3 separate regions of the Homo sapiens genome follow, and all the other regions are linked to region 2. Evidence: promoter capture Hi-C in 16 types of primary human blood cells and fetal thymus (Javierre and others, 2016). All regions are on one chromosome and are shown on one strand. Each heading gives the region's core, a stretch centred on a gene start or on the middle of the fragment in contact. The rest is flanking DNA. Distances are from core to core; before and after follow the strand shown.

The links. The method cuts DNA at HindIII sites, captures the fragments that hold promoters and counts their contacts. A CHiCAGO score of 5 or more calls a contact.
Region 1: a fragment that was not itself captured here is called in contact with the fragment with the promoter of PREB in region 2 in 1 of 17 cell types (neutrophils); the score reaches 5.1 in neutrophils.
Region 3: a contact is called between a fragment that was not itself captured here and the fragment with the promoter of PREB in region 2, in 3 of 17 cell types (total B cells, neutrophils and naive B cells). The highest score is 5.4, in total B cells.

The regions. Positions count from the first base shown.
Region 1 is chr2:27,381,296-27,385,616 of GRCh38, reverse strand. It overlaps PPM1G (protein phosphatase, Mg2+/Mn2+ dependent 1G), which reads left to right. Exons shown (of 10, transcript NM_177983.3): 5 at 529-944; 6 at 1,525-1,665; 7 at 2,017-2,251; 8 at 3,012-3,141; 9 at 3,389-3,491; 10 at 3,812-4,321. The coding sequence ends at 4,018. Among named protein-coding and RNA genes, the nearest start is that of ZNF513, 2.7 kb to the right of the region's middle. The HindIII fragment of the contact is 1,052 bases long and covers 1,076-2,127 here.
Region 2 is chr2:27,131,000-27,135,914 of GRCh38, reverse strand. It overlaps PREB (prolactin regulatory element binding), which reads left to right and starts at 1,279. Exons shown (of 9, transcript NM_013388.6): 1 at 1,279-1,628; 2 at 2,194-2,383; 3 at 2,578-2,798; 4 at 2,992-3,072; 5 at 3,188-3,312; 6 at 3,512-3,685; 7 at 3,833-3,905; 8 at 4,084-4,243; 9 at 4,407-4,915. The coding sequence starts at 1,494. The coding sequence ends at 4,501. RefSeq lists enhancers at 1,341-1,390, 866-1,522 and a silencer at 1,461-1,560. The HindIII fragment of the contact is 5,539 bases long and covers 1-2,897 here.
Region 3 is chr2:27,319,773-27,324,329 of GRCh38, reverse strand. It overlaps MPV17 (mitochondrial inner membrane protein MPV17), which reads left to right and starts at 1,233. Exons shown (of 8, transcript NM_002437.5): 1 at 1,233-1,278; 2 at 1,808-1,882. The coding sequence starts at 1,813. RefSeq lists enhancers at 424-1,396, 1,519-1,578, 1,629-1,678, 1,689-1,778, 1,789-1,838 and 3 more. The HindIII fragment of the contact is 4,230 bases long and covers 1-3,655 here.

The DNA of each region.
Region 1 (4,321 bases), core at 352-2,851, 250 kb before region 2:
TGTTCTCCTGCATTGTATGTGGTTATGAAAAGGAGGGAGAGAATTATCTTCGTTGAGTGGCATCTGAGCTGTAAGCATTGTATATACATTATCTTTTGTCATTGTGATGGGGTCTTCCTGGTTCCTGCTAGTATTTATGTGCTTTTTTTTCCCCTCAAGACTGGAGCAGTTATTAGCCCCAATAGCCAATCATTAAGCCTAAATCCTAATTCACAGTAGCATTGTGGGCTTCCTGGATCCTCAGCCAGAATAGGGTTTTTACAACTTAACAATAAAAAATGAGACGTCAGAGGGGAAGTATAGTAACTAGTGTTGTTTTGATTAAGAAGGGGATGAAACACAAAAACCAAAAGAAGTCTGTGGAGGAGGAGGAGCTAGGGCATGTTCTTCTGAGACTTGAGCGAGAGGAACCTTGGGAGTGGGAGGTTGTGGGGAAGTTAGAGGCTGCAAGGGCTGTTGAGGTAGTGAGAGGGACGGATCCCATGAGGAGTCTGGCATGGGGGCTCTGATTTAGCCTCTTCCCTGCAGTGGACAATGAGGAGGCTGCACTGCTGCATGAAGAGGCTACCATGACTATTGAAGAGCTGCTGACACGCTACGGGCAGAACTGTCACAAGGGCCCTCCCCACAGCAAATCTGGAGGTGGGACAGGCGAGGAACCAGGGTCCCAGGGCCTCAATGGGGAGGCAGGACCTGAGGACTCAACTAGGGAAACTCCTTCACAAGAAAATGGCCCCACAGCCAAGGCCTACACAGGCTTTTCCTCCAACTCGGAACGTGGGACTGAGGCAGGCCAAGTTGGTGAGCCTGGCATTCCCACTGGTGAGGCTGGGCCTTCCTGCTCTTCAGCCTCTGACAAGCTGCCTCGAGTTGCTAAGTCCAAGTTCTTTGAGGACAGTGAGGATGAGTCAGATGAGGCGGAGGAAGAAGAGGAAGACAGTGAGGTAAGGGCCTGTGAGGGCAGGCAGATGCTGAAGTTGCAGAGAGGTCCTGTTTGGTTGCCGTCTGTAGTTTTCAACTCTCTTTCCTTCTCCTATTTTGACATCATCCCCCAAGACCCACTGTATTCTAAGCTTTAGTCTTGAATTCATTGAGCTCCATCATCACAGGTACCATTTGCCTTTTTACCTCTTCCTTTGTTGGTACTATAACAAGCAGATCTAGTTCTGGCTTTTCAGAGTCTGTCTCCTAGAGAGAGAACAAGGAGATAGTTGTTACCTTGGCTAGTTGACTGTTTTCTTCTCTGGAAAATTTATTTTCTGGCCACAGTGCCTGAAAGATATTTTTGGCTGGCAGCCCTTGCCTTGTCCTGGGCTTTTTGCTAGTGACTGCTAAGCCCAGTTCAGGATGTCAGTTGTACTCATGCTAGCCCTTTCCATCCCCCCAATTTTCATGACCATATACTTGTATCTTTCAGTGTTTTGAGGACCTGTGTTCAGTCAGGACCTCTTGATTCTGAGTATGAGCTGTGGGGAGGGAGGGGATCATCCCAGTCTCAGCAGTCTGGGATCCTCCCCCTGGCAGGAATGCAGCGAGGAAGAGGATGGCTACAGCAGTGAGGAGGCAGAGAATGAGGAAGATGAGGATGACACCGAGGAGGCTGAAGAGGACGATGAAGAAGAAGAAGAAGAGATGATGGTGCCAGGGATGGAAGGCAAAGAGGAGGTGTGTGGGGAAGGGGAGCAATGAGTCTTGAAAAGCCACAAGGCAGGTGTGAATCCCCTAATTTTGATTTTGAGACAGGGGATCCCCCTGATACTTTAGGATGGAAGTAATAGTCATGGGGATTTATTCTGCAAGGGGAATGAGATGGTAAGCCTTTGGGGTTGAATTATCTAAAAACAAGGGAGAGGGAGTGTGCTGCTGTCTCTAGAAAGATGAAATGTGTGCTTCTCCTGTTTGTTAAAGCTCTTTTGGGGGTCCCAGTGAAAGCAAGCATAGGTGAACGATCAGGAGCACATCAGTGAGGAACGCATGTTCAGAAGCCCCCATGATGCTCCTTTTCTTCCTCTTAAGCCTGGCTCTGACAGTGGTACAACAGCGGTGGTGGCCCTGATACGAGGGAAGCAGTTGATTGTAGCCAACGCAGGAGACTCTCGCTGTGTGGTATCTGAGGCTGGCAAAGCTTTAGACATGTCCTATGATCACAAACCAGAGGATGAAGTAGAACTAGCACGCATCAAGAATGCTGGTGGCAAGGTCACCATGGATGGGCGAGTCAACGGGGGCCTCAACCTCTCCAGAGCCATTGGTAAGGGCCAAGAAACTGGGAAAGACTTCTAGGGTCTTTCTCTCTGTCCCAGACTACCTAGTAGCAAACTTTAATCTTCCTAGTGCTTGTGCCTTTCAAAGCACTTTAATATCTACTACCTCTGTTCTTATATTTCTGTGAAATAACTAAGATGGGTAGAGGTATCATTATACATAGGTATCATTATACCCATCTTATGTAACATTTGAATGATGAAAAAGACCTGTGAGTGCCGGGCGTGGTGGCTCACGCCTGTAATCCCAGCACTTTGGGAGGCTGAGGCTGGTGGATCGCCTGAGGTCAGGAGTTCGAGGCCAGCCTGGCCAACATGGTGAAACCCCATCTCTACTAAAAAAAAAAAAAAATACAAAAATTAGCTGGGCATGGTAGTGCAAGCCTGTAATCCCAGCTACTCAGGAGGCTGAGGCAGGAGAACCGCTTGAATCCGGGAGGCGGAGGTTGTAGTGAGCCGAGATCGTGCCATTACACTCCAGCCTGGGCTACAAGAGTGAAACTCCGTCTCAAAAAAAAAAAAACAAAAAAGACTTAAAATAAAAAGACCAGTGAGTGACTTTCTTAAGGTTCAGCAGTCTGGTGGCAGGGTTGAAACTAGAAAAACTAGGACTTAGGACTCAGTTCCCCATTCCACTAGATTATGGAACTTTGTAAAGAAGGGAAATGAATGGCAAGGTTTGACCTGCCACAAACACAAGTCTGTGGGAAGTATCCAAACTGCTCATCAACCATTCCTTTACTCCAGGGGACCACTTCTATAAGAGAAACAAGAACCTGCCACCTGAGGAACAGATGATTTCAGCCCTTCCTGACATCAAGGTGCTGACTCTCACTGACGACCATGAATTCATGGTCATTGCCTGTGATGGCATCTGGTGAGCACTGGCAGAATGCCCTAAATTCCCCTTTCTGCAGCATGTCTTCTCTTATAGGACTCAGGGCACCTCTAGGATTAGAGCCTAGGCAGACCTAGGCCTCTTGGTGGGTGAAGAGCACCCAGACTAAGGCAGAGCTGAGAATTTCTGTAGTTATTTACACTGGCCTGGGCCACCACCTCTGTCCATACTCCTCTACGCTGCCTTAGTGAGACTGGAAGATTCTGACTGTTGTTCTTGACCCCAGGAATGTGATGAGCAGCCAGGAAGTTGTAGATTTCATTCAATCAAAGATCAGCCAGCGTGATGAAAATGGGGAGCTTCGGTTATTGTCATCCATTGTGGAAGAGGTGAGTACCAGGGTGGAGAAGAGAGGGTGTCTGGTCTGCACAGCCAGGGTTCACTCTTTTAATCTGAGCTAAGTCGGCAATCTGGGAGCATTATCAGTAATTGCTGACAGACGCTAAACCCCGACTCCAAAGTTCCACCTTCTGTCATTTCCCTGACTTAGCCTTATGCCTTATGGACTAGCAGGTGGGCCGTTGTGTGATACCTCTTGCCCATTCCTCTCCTACCACCCTGACTCAGCAAGCCAGCCCTCTTGTGGGACTGTAGATTCCTGGCAAGGTGTTCAAACCCTGTGGCTGAGCTACCCCCATCCCTTTCTTAGCTGCTGGATCAGTGCCTGGCACCAGACACTTCTGGGGATGGTACAGGGTGTGACAACATGACCTGCATCATCATTTGCTTCAAGCCCCGAAACACAGCAGAGCTCCAGCCAGAGAGTGGCAAGCGAAAACTAGAGGAGGTGCTCTCTACTGAGGGGGCTGAAGAAAATGGCAACAGCGACAAGAAGAAGAAGGCCAAGCGAGACTAGCAGTCATCCAGACCCCTGCCCACCTAGACTGTTTTCTGAGCCCTCCGGACCTGAGACTGAGTTTTGTCTTTTTCCTTTAGCCTTAGCAGTGGGTATGAGGTGTGCAGGGGGAGCTGGGTGGCTTCACTCCGCCCATTCCAAAGAGGGCTCTCCCTCCACACTGCAGCCGGGAGCCTCTGCTGTCCTTCCCAGCCGCCTCTGCTCCTCGGGCTCATCACCGGTTCTGTGCCTGTGCTCTGTTGTGTTGGAGGGAAGGACTGGCGGTTCTGGTTTTTACTCTGTGAACTTTATTTAAGGACATTC
Region 2 (4,915 bases), core at 30-2,529:
GGACATCCCTTGTGCTCGCTCTCAGGAGTGCACAAAGGTCCTCATCAGATCAGAAACCCGAGGGAGAATGGAGTGTCAGGCGCAGAAGATACCTGCCCGGGAGCCAAACTGCCCCCTCTGAGGCCAGCAAAGCAGCTGGCCACCCACCAAGCCACCAGCCCAGGAGTGTGAAGCCTTGAGAAAGGGAATGGCAGACACCACCCCTGCCAAAAGTGGGCGATAGGCGTTAAGGATGACAGACGTGTCCTCATACGAGGAAGCAATGGATTCAGCATTTGAAGTCAGGTTTATTTTTAAGTTCATGCTGCCTCCGTTAAGAAGCAAGAGACTCCGGTGGTTTCTGGTGTGTGCCCTCGGGCAAATCACTTCCTCTCTGAGGTAAGATGCAAAGGCCTGTGCTCCTAGGAGTTGGCATATCACTCCTCAGATGGGAACAGTCCTTATTTGAGGATTTTATGTGTGTGAGAGACAGGGTCTAGCTCTGTTGCCCAGGGGCTGGAGTGCAGTGGTGACATCACTGGTGGTCCAGCGCAGCCTCGACCTCCCAGTCTCAAGTGATCCTCCCGCCTGAGCCTCCTGGGCACCTGGGCCCACAGGTGCCACGATGTTTGGCTAATTTTTAAATATTTCGTAGGGACGGATCCCCATGTTGCCCAGGCTGTCTCGAAAGCCTGGGCTCAAGCCATCCTCCTCTCTCGGACTTTCCGAAAGTGTTGGGATTACAGGAGGATTACAGGCATGAACCACCGTGCCTGGCAGAGGATTTTTTTTTTTTTGAGACGGAGTTTCACTCTTGTTGCTTGTTGCCCAGGCTGAAGAGCAATGGCAATGGCGCGATCTCGGCTCACTGCAACCTCTACTTCCCAGGTTCAAGTGATTCTCCTGCCTCAGGCTCCCGAGTAGCTGGGATTACAGGCGCACGCCACCACGCCCTTTGTATTTTTGGTAGAGACGGGGTTTCTCCATGTTGGTCAGGCTGGTCTCGAACTCCTGATCCGCCCGCCTAGGACTCACAAAGTGCTGGGATTACAGGCGCGAGTCGGATTTCTTTATTAAAGGTTGACCTTCATCAACCTCCATTGGCTCCACCTCCTCCGCCCGCGCCCCGCGCCCCGCACAAAAATGGCGAAGTCGGTGCTGGGCGACTCTGCCTCCGCGCCAGGGGTGGAGAACCGAAGCCCCGCCCCGGGAAACGCGGCCCCGCGGCCGGCTAGTGCTGACGCGTGTCGGCGCTCCTGCGCCTGCGCGGAGGGAGCCGCGAGACAGGTGCGCATGCGCAGTGCGCGTCTGCGAGACCGACTTGGACGGAGCCGAGCTGAGGCTCGGCTTCCTGCTGATGGTCAGGGTTTTGGCAACTCCCCGGTGTGAGAGGGGTAGGGAGTGCTCCCGGCGGCGACGGGGCCGAGTTCACCAGCCGCCGGGGCAGTAGTCGAAGGCCCGGCGCGGCATGTCCTGGGTGCCGCGGTGCGGGCAGTGAACGCGCGCCGGGCGGGATGGGCCGGCGCCGGGCGCCAGAGCTGTACCGGGCTCCGTTCCCGTTGTACGCGCTTCAGGTCGACCCCAGCACTGGGCTGCTCATCGCTGCGGGCGGAGGAGGCGCCGCCAAGACAGGCATAAAGAATGGCGTGGTGAGAGCGCAGGGCCACTGGGGCTGGGTCTTGCTGCGGGCTGGCGGCGATTCCAGGGTGGCCGGGGGGTCGCGGGGCGGGCCACACTCCAGCTTCGGGCCCTGCCCACTTCTGTTGGGAAGACCCGCTTGCCTGACGCCCAGGGGCGAATTTCAGTCGAGAACTCAGCGGGCGGAGGAGAGGCTTTTAAGGTAAAGTGAAAACTGCACACAGCTGCAGAGTCGCCAGGAACGCTTCAGCTCCGCCTCAGAGCAGCTCCAGGGGTCTTATACTGGCCTTTTCCGGGAGGTCTTGCCTGCCCTCTAGCAGCGGCGAGAGTGGTGCATTTGGGTTTAGGCTAAGTTCCTTCCCTCTCCTGAGCTTCACCCTGTTCTGTAAAATAGAGGTAATAATCCCAGTCCTGCTCACTGTGTAGATTTGTGAGGCCCAAATGAGAGAAAAAAGACTCGAGAAACCCTTGTGAACTAGAACGTGCAGAAAGCAAAGGGGTAAGACATCAGACTCTTCCCTAAACGTGCTCTCTGGGCACCCCTGAACTTGCTCATCCGGGTTCCCCCTCCCACAGCACTTTCTGCAGCTAGAGCTGATTAATGGGCGCTTGAGTGCCTCCTTGCTGCACTCCCATGACACAGAGACACGGGCCACCATGAACTTGGCACTGGCTGGTGACATCCTTGCTGCAGGGCAGGATGCCCACTGTCAGCTCCTGCGCTTCCAGGCACATCAACAGCAGGGCAACAAGGCAGAGAAGGCCGGTGAGGAGCTCCCTCTCTACCCCCTTGGGGAAAGGGTTGAACGAGTAAGGTCACTCTTGGTGTCTCTAAAGAAGTGGGTCTGGAAGTAGGGTTTTGGTAGCAAGCTAGAAGTTGTATGGGCACCTGCCATGGAGAGAGGGGCCAGTACTCCTTACTGTAGAAGCCTGGAACCTGGCCAAGTGTTTGTGTTACAGGTTCCAAGGAGCAGGGGCCTCGACAAAGGAAGGGAGCAGCCCCAGCAGAGAAGAAATGTGGAGCGGAAACCCAGCACGAGGGGCTAGAACTCAGGGTAGAGAATTTGCAGGCGGTGCAGACAGACTTTAGCTCCGATCCACTGCAGAAAGTTGTGTGCTTCAACCACGATAATACCCTGCTTGCCACTGGAGGAACAGATGGCTACGTCCGTGTCTGGAAGGTGTGGGTTTGCAGGGTTAGGGAGGGTGAATGTCAGTAGCAACAGGATCAAAATTGTGAGAAGTTGAACGTGGCATCTGGGAAACTTGTGAATGAAGCTTGCATTGAGGGGCCATTAGAAGGGGTGGCGTGGGCATCAGTCACAGTGTACTTGCTGGACACCTGAGTTAACCATGGTGGTTGTTTGGCTACAGGTGCCCAGCCTGGAGAAGGTTCTGGAGTTCAAAGCCCACGAAGGGGAGATTGAAGACCTGGCTTTAGGGCCTGATGGCAAGGTGAGGGGCTGGGGGTGGGAGGAGGATGGAGAAAGGAGAGAGGAGGTGCTTATGCTGCTTGCCCAGTAAGTGGATCCCCTAACTGTCCATCCTTGGAATCTTTATTCCTAACTAGTTGGTAACCGTGGGCCGGGACCTTAAGGCCTCTGTGTGGCAGAAGGATCAGCTGGTGACACAGCTGCACTGGCAAGAAAATGGACCCACCTTTTCCAGCACACCTTACCGCTACCAGGCCTGCAGGTGTGAAGACTTTGGGTGGTGGCTGAAAGAGGCATAGCCCAGCTGTGGTGGGGGAGAGGGAAAAGACTGGGGATGGGAGAGCTGGGGAGGAACTTGTTGAGTGTTACCCCAGGTCTGACCAGGGTGCAGGTGGTGCACAAACCTCTGAGGAGGGTTGGGCAGGCCCTAGGAGCTGAATAGCCCCTCATCCGGCCCCCAGGTTTGGGCAGGTTCCAGACCAGCCTGCTGGCCTGCGACTCTTCACAGTGCAAATTCCCCACAAGCGCCTGCGCCAGCCCCCTCCCTGCTACCTCACAGCCTGGGATGGCTCCAACTTCTTGCCCCTTCGGACCAAGTCCTGTGGCCATGAAGTCGTCTCCTGCCTCGATGTCAGGTGTGAGACATTGCTGCCTTGGCTAGGTAGGGGGTCCCTGAGGGAGCTTGGAAAGGAGTCCTGCCTGGGTCCCTACGGACCGGTATTGGGGTATGAGGGTTGCTGCACAAGCCTCCAGGACAATGAGCTCTTTATTGTTTGTTGCAGTGAATCCGGCACCTTCCTAGGCCTGGGCACAGTCACTGGCTCTGTTGCCATCTACATAGCTTTCTCTCTCCAGGTAATGGGTGGAGGTTGGCATGGCCCTGTGGGTGGACTGTAGGCCTGTCTCTACCCTGAGTTTGCAGGAAGGAGTCTGGCCCATCCTATCGAGGGAAATCCTGGGGGTGGGGAACATGCTTTCCAGAAAGAGAGTTCCCAGCTAGGCCTTTCCTCACTGGTATTCCTTCTGCCCACAGTGCCTCTACTACGTGAGGGAGGCCCATGGCATTGTGGTGACGGATGTGGCCTTTCTACCTGAGAAGGGTCGTGGTCCAGAGCTCCTTGGGTCCCATGAAACTGCCCTGTTCTCTGTGGCTGTGGACAGTCGTTGCCAGCTGCATCTGTTGCCCTCACGGCGTGAGTCATTGGGGCAGGGCAGGCAGGCACCACCCCACGTTTAATGACCAGAAACGTGCCCCCCGGAGGCTGGGCTCTTTGTGCCACTCCTCCTTTGAAGGGTTCTGGTTTTCAGGCTGGGAAGCCCTTTTGCCCGCTGACCTCCTCCCTTTCCCTCCTGCAGGGAGTGTTCCTGTGTGGCTCCTGCTCCTGCTGTGTGTCGGGCTTATTATTGTGACCATCCTGCTGCTCCAGAGTGCCTTTCCAGGTTTCCTTTAGCTTCCCTGCTTCCTGGGAATCAGGAGCCTGGACACTGCCATCTCTAGAGCAGAGTGGAGGCCTGGACTCCCTTTGCTCACTCCATTCGGGTCCACAGCTGAGGTTGCCGCTGACAAGATGAATGGGCACTGCCTGCCCTTCTAGTGAAAAGGCTTGGCTATGGCCCTGTGTGACTCCAGGTCCCAGGAACCTTGCCTTCGTCATCTGTGGATCCATCCAGAACAGCGGTATCTGAAGCCCAGGCCATACTCCCTGCCTCCTTTCTTCTGCCTACCAGAGGCTCCAGAGTTGAGCTTGTCCTTATCTAGAAACATGTGAAGATGCCCAAGAGCCTGGAGGCACTGCTGTCCTTCCTGCAGAAACAGTTTCTCCTCCTCCCCTCAGCCTTGTGGCCAGTTCCTCTTCACATGAAGC
Region 3 (4,557 bases), core at 291-2,790, 190 kb before region 2:
AACTCAGTCTAACTTCAGAATATAACTTTACAGCCTACCACATTTGGTCTCCTATTACATTTACTTTTGTCAGTTCACTCCTCTAGCATGCTGTTTTGCAAATAGCATTTTAGTTAAATGTTTGTGACATTGACTTCTCTTGCTTCCTTACTCTGTTTCTCCAGGATTTGTGGCAGGAGTCTCCCTGCCTTAATCATAAAGGAATTGAGTAAATTGGGGGTGGAGCTGGGCAGGTGGAGAGCCTGAAAGAGTGTGCCTCCTGACGTGTGGGCTCCCTGGAGATAAGTAAAGCCTGCCAGCCTGACAAGTCCATTGCCAGGGATATTGTAGACATTTCCAACGCTCTAGAAAGGATATTGCTCTATATTCACAGACTCTTAGAATGTTAGAGCTGGAAGGGGATTAAGAAATCACCTAGCTTACTGGTTTTCAAACATGCAGTTGTGGGCCCCGTTAAAAATGGGTCTTTTGAGAAGTATATACTTGGAAAAAAAAGTTGGAGAAGCAGCTGTAGTAATGCTGCCCCTCTCATCCCCACACACAAACATCTGAAAAATCCCTAGAACTGAGGAGCCGAGTTTGGAAAGTCAATAGTGTAACCTCCCTCATTTTACAGATGCAGAGCCTTAACATCAAGTCTAGTCATGACCAAGGCTGCACAGCCCGTTAGTTTGGGAGCCAATACCTAATGTCTTCTGAGGTTCTAATTCCAATGCTTTCTGTGGAAGAATCATACATACGCAGTATTTCTTAAGTGGCTGTTTGCGGCAAAGCACTGAAATAGTTGCTATGAGGACGACAAATATGAACGACCCCAGTTTTACCCACTCATGAGCTCACAGTTGAGGCCAGTGAAGAACCTAGAGACAAAACACGCACTTAACTATAACTTATAGTTCCCTAACTACGATTGCTGAGACAAGGATCGTAGTTATGGCCAGTTATGCGGGGAGGGTGGGCTGAACAATGAGACTACCGGATTGAGAGAGGCCCGGGTCTCGCGCGGAGAGAAGGGGCAGGAGGAGGCAGAGGGTCGAACTTAGGTGAGAAATATGGCTGGCGGGCCCCACACCAGGGTCCGGCACAGTCCAGCTGGAAAAGGGGTCTCTCACAGAGTGGGTGGCCGAGTTAGGCCGCTCTCCACGGGTATTCATGGCTCGGTCCACCCCCATTCCTGTCCTGGCTGCGTAATCCGAAGGACGCTGGGAGGAAGGGGCGGGACTTGTGGCGGAAGTTCCTAGGCCAGCCTGTCACGTGGGAGGGAGGCTCGGCGCTCAGGTGAGTGGCGGGTGATCTGCGGTCTCTGGCTTAAAGCGTCGCAAGCCATGAGTGCCCACAAGGTGTGTGGTCATCCTATATCCGGGCAGTGACGGGCCCTATTTTCGGTTTGGAGCTGGACTCAGGAAGGTTACAAACTGGTTCCAACCAAGTCTGAATCTGGAGACGGACCAAGCTATCTTTTGAGGCACCCAAGCTCTGGGTAGAAGCCAGAGCAAAGCTGTCCTCATGAGTGTCTCCGTCGGGAACGGAGGCTTCCAGGTGGTCTGGCTTCAGGAATGAGGTTGGGGTGGCTGGTGGCTGCTACCAGGAGTCCATAGCTTCCCACAGCCTTTCTCTCTTCCCCAATTGTCTAAGGCGACTCCTGCGACAGGAAGCTGTCTGGGAAGCATCCTTCATGTGGCCTCTGCCCCTTTAAGTCACATTGGAAGTGGGAAGGGGAAGGGAGTGGGCACAAGGGAATGTCAGGCGGCTTCTTAGTCGTGGAGAGGGACGGTGGGGGTGACCCCCTCTCCTCTTGGCTTGACAGGAAGCATGGCACTCTGGCGGGCATACCAGCGGGCCCTGGCCGCTCACCCGTGGAAAGTACAGGTCCTGACAGCTGGTGAGTGTCCCTCTAGGACTTGAGTGGGACCAGGGCAGACTGATTTGGAAGCCAGAGGCTTGCCCCACTGCACCACCCTCACTTCCTGTTTCTATTCGGCTCTCTTGAAGGGTTGGCTGTCTTTCATCCTACACTGTCCCCAGTCTGTTTTGGAGGGTGGTCCCCAAGGCTGTTTTTAAGGGGTATGCGTAGTTGGCCAAGCTGTGCAGTAGGGTTTTAGGATTTCAAAGTCCTCAAAAAGCTGAACAGTCAGCCCTGAAGGATAAAGGCATTGCCCCAGGAGGCCTCAACTTGGAAAACATTTTACCGTATGCAAAGCACTTTCATATACGTTATGGCATAGGGCCCCCACAAAGGTGTGTGAGCTAGGAGGGTTACTTGAGTCCACATTAGATCACACCTAATAAGTGCTGAATCAAGACTCTTACCCCAGTTTTTCTTGGTATTTTTTATTGTGAAACATACAAAAGAATGATTAAGATGTGTATGTACAGTTTAAATGGCATTAAAACTGAACACTCCTGTGTCAGTAATCAGCTTTGAGACCTCTTGAGTGCCTCTCCGTAATTCACCCAAAATTTCCTGAGTTTTGTTTATATCGTTCATTTGCTTTTGTTATCATTTACTGCCTAAATATGTATCTCCAAGGTTAGTATATTGGTATCTGATCACTCCATCCTGATCCATTTGGAGTGATCAGATACCAGTCACTCCAAATGCAGTGATTGAGTACTAACCTCACAGAGGTAATGCAGTGACCTACCTGCATTTGTTACCATCTTCATTTTGCAAGTTAGCTAATGTAAGAGGATGGCATGAAGATAAGTAAGTCTTAGAGGGGGAATGTCAGAAGGCCTTAGAACATTGGGGTGCAAAGAGTGATCACATTAAGATGAGGTCTTGCCCATGTTTAGAGAAGGGGAACAGGATTCTAGTGATGACTGGCCTTCTGAGAAGAGGACTATTGGAAGGGATTGGGGGCTACTGAAGGCCAGAGTGGAACAGGGATCCTGTGACCAGAACAGCCCTGCATCGGCACAGAAACTTAACTGCATGAATGGCCAGGAGATGGATTCTTTGGCCCTTCCCTGGGCCCCTCTCCAGTCTCCGGTGCCCAACCACCTCTTGTCCTGTCCTCAGCGTCCGTCAGCCTGTATGACTCACCTGGCTACGTGTGTGGTGACTCATGCTGGACAGTGTGGCTATGATGGGAACTGACACGCTGGGCCCTTTGCCCAGGCTCAGATTCCCTCAGGGCCCATAACTGCCAGATGGAAGATTCCCCCTTGTGGTCATCAAGAATAGGGAGGGAAAGAGTCCTTATATTTCCCTACCTGAGGCATCTGCAGCTGACAAGGGCAGGAGCTAGAGCTCCAAGGAGGCCTAGGTGCCGACATGTGGCTGGAGTTCTGGGCTCTTGGTGCTGGAGCCCTTCAGCTCCACAGCCTCAGTCTTCCTGAGGCTATGCTGACGTCCCAGCTCAGCCCTGAAGCAAAATGTAGCCTCCCAGCACTTTTCCCAGACTTTTTCAGACCATCCAGACTTTTCCTTTCCTGCTGTTCACTGTATTTGGATCAAACTACAAATAAAAGGTGGAAGTGGCTTTAGTTCACTGAGCCATTTTTGGACCCCAGCACAGTAGTTCCTAAGGTCCCATGGGATAGCTCATCACACTGGAAAACAGTACAGAGATTTCAGACTTAGAAGACCAGGATTTGAATCTTAAAACCATAGCACCTAGTAGGTGCATTAATCAGGACAAGTCAGTAAGCTTCTTTGAGCCTTAGTTTCCTCTTTTAAAACTTGAGTTTAGGGACTGGGCGCGGTGGCTCACACCTGTAATCCCAGCACTTTGGGACGCCGAGGTGGGCAGATCACGAGGTCAGGAGATCGAGACCAACCTGGCTAACACGGTGAAACCCCGTCTCTACTAAAAATACAAAATTAGCCGGGTATGGTGGCGCATGCCTGTAATCCCAGCTACTTGGGAGGCTGAGGCAGGAGAATCACTTGAACCCATGAGGCAGAGGTTGCGGTGAGCCAAGATTGTGCCATTGCACTCCAGCCTGGGCAACAAGAGCGAAACTCCATCTCAAAAAAAAAAATCAACAAAAAAAAAATCTTGAGTTTAGTTATATGACCTCACAGGGTCAGTATAGGAGTATCACTGTGAAAAGGTTTTGGACATTTTTTTTCTTTTTTTTTTTCTTCGAGATGGAGTCTTGCACTGTTGCCCGGGCTGGAGTGCGGTGGCGTGATCTCGACTCACTGCAACCTCCGCCTCCCGGGTTCAAGTGATTCTCCTGCCTCAGCCTCTTCAGCAGCTGGGATTATAGGCATGCGCCACCACGCCCAGCTAATTTTTTCTATTTTTAGTAGAGACGGGATTTCACCATGTTGGCCAGGCTGGTCTCGGACACTTGACCTCGTGATTCACCCGCCTCGGCCTCCTAAAGTGCTGGGGTTACAGGTGTGAGCCACTGAGCTCAGCCTTTTTTTCTTTTTCTTTTTTTTTTTTTTTTGAGATAAGGTGTCACCCTGTTACCCAGGCTGGAGAGTGGTGGTGCTATATCAGCTCACTGCAACCTCCGCCTCCTGGGTTCAAGCAATTATCATGCGTCAGCCTCCTGAGTAGCTGGGACTACAAGTGCACAGCACCACACCAGGCTACTTTT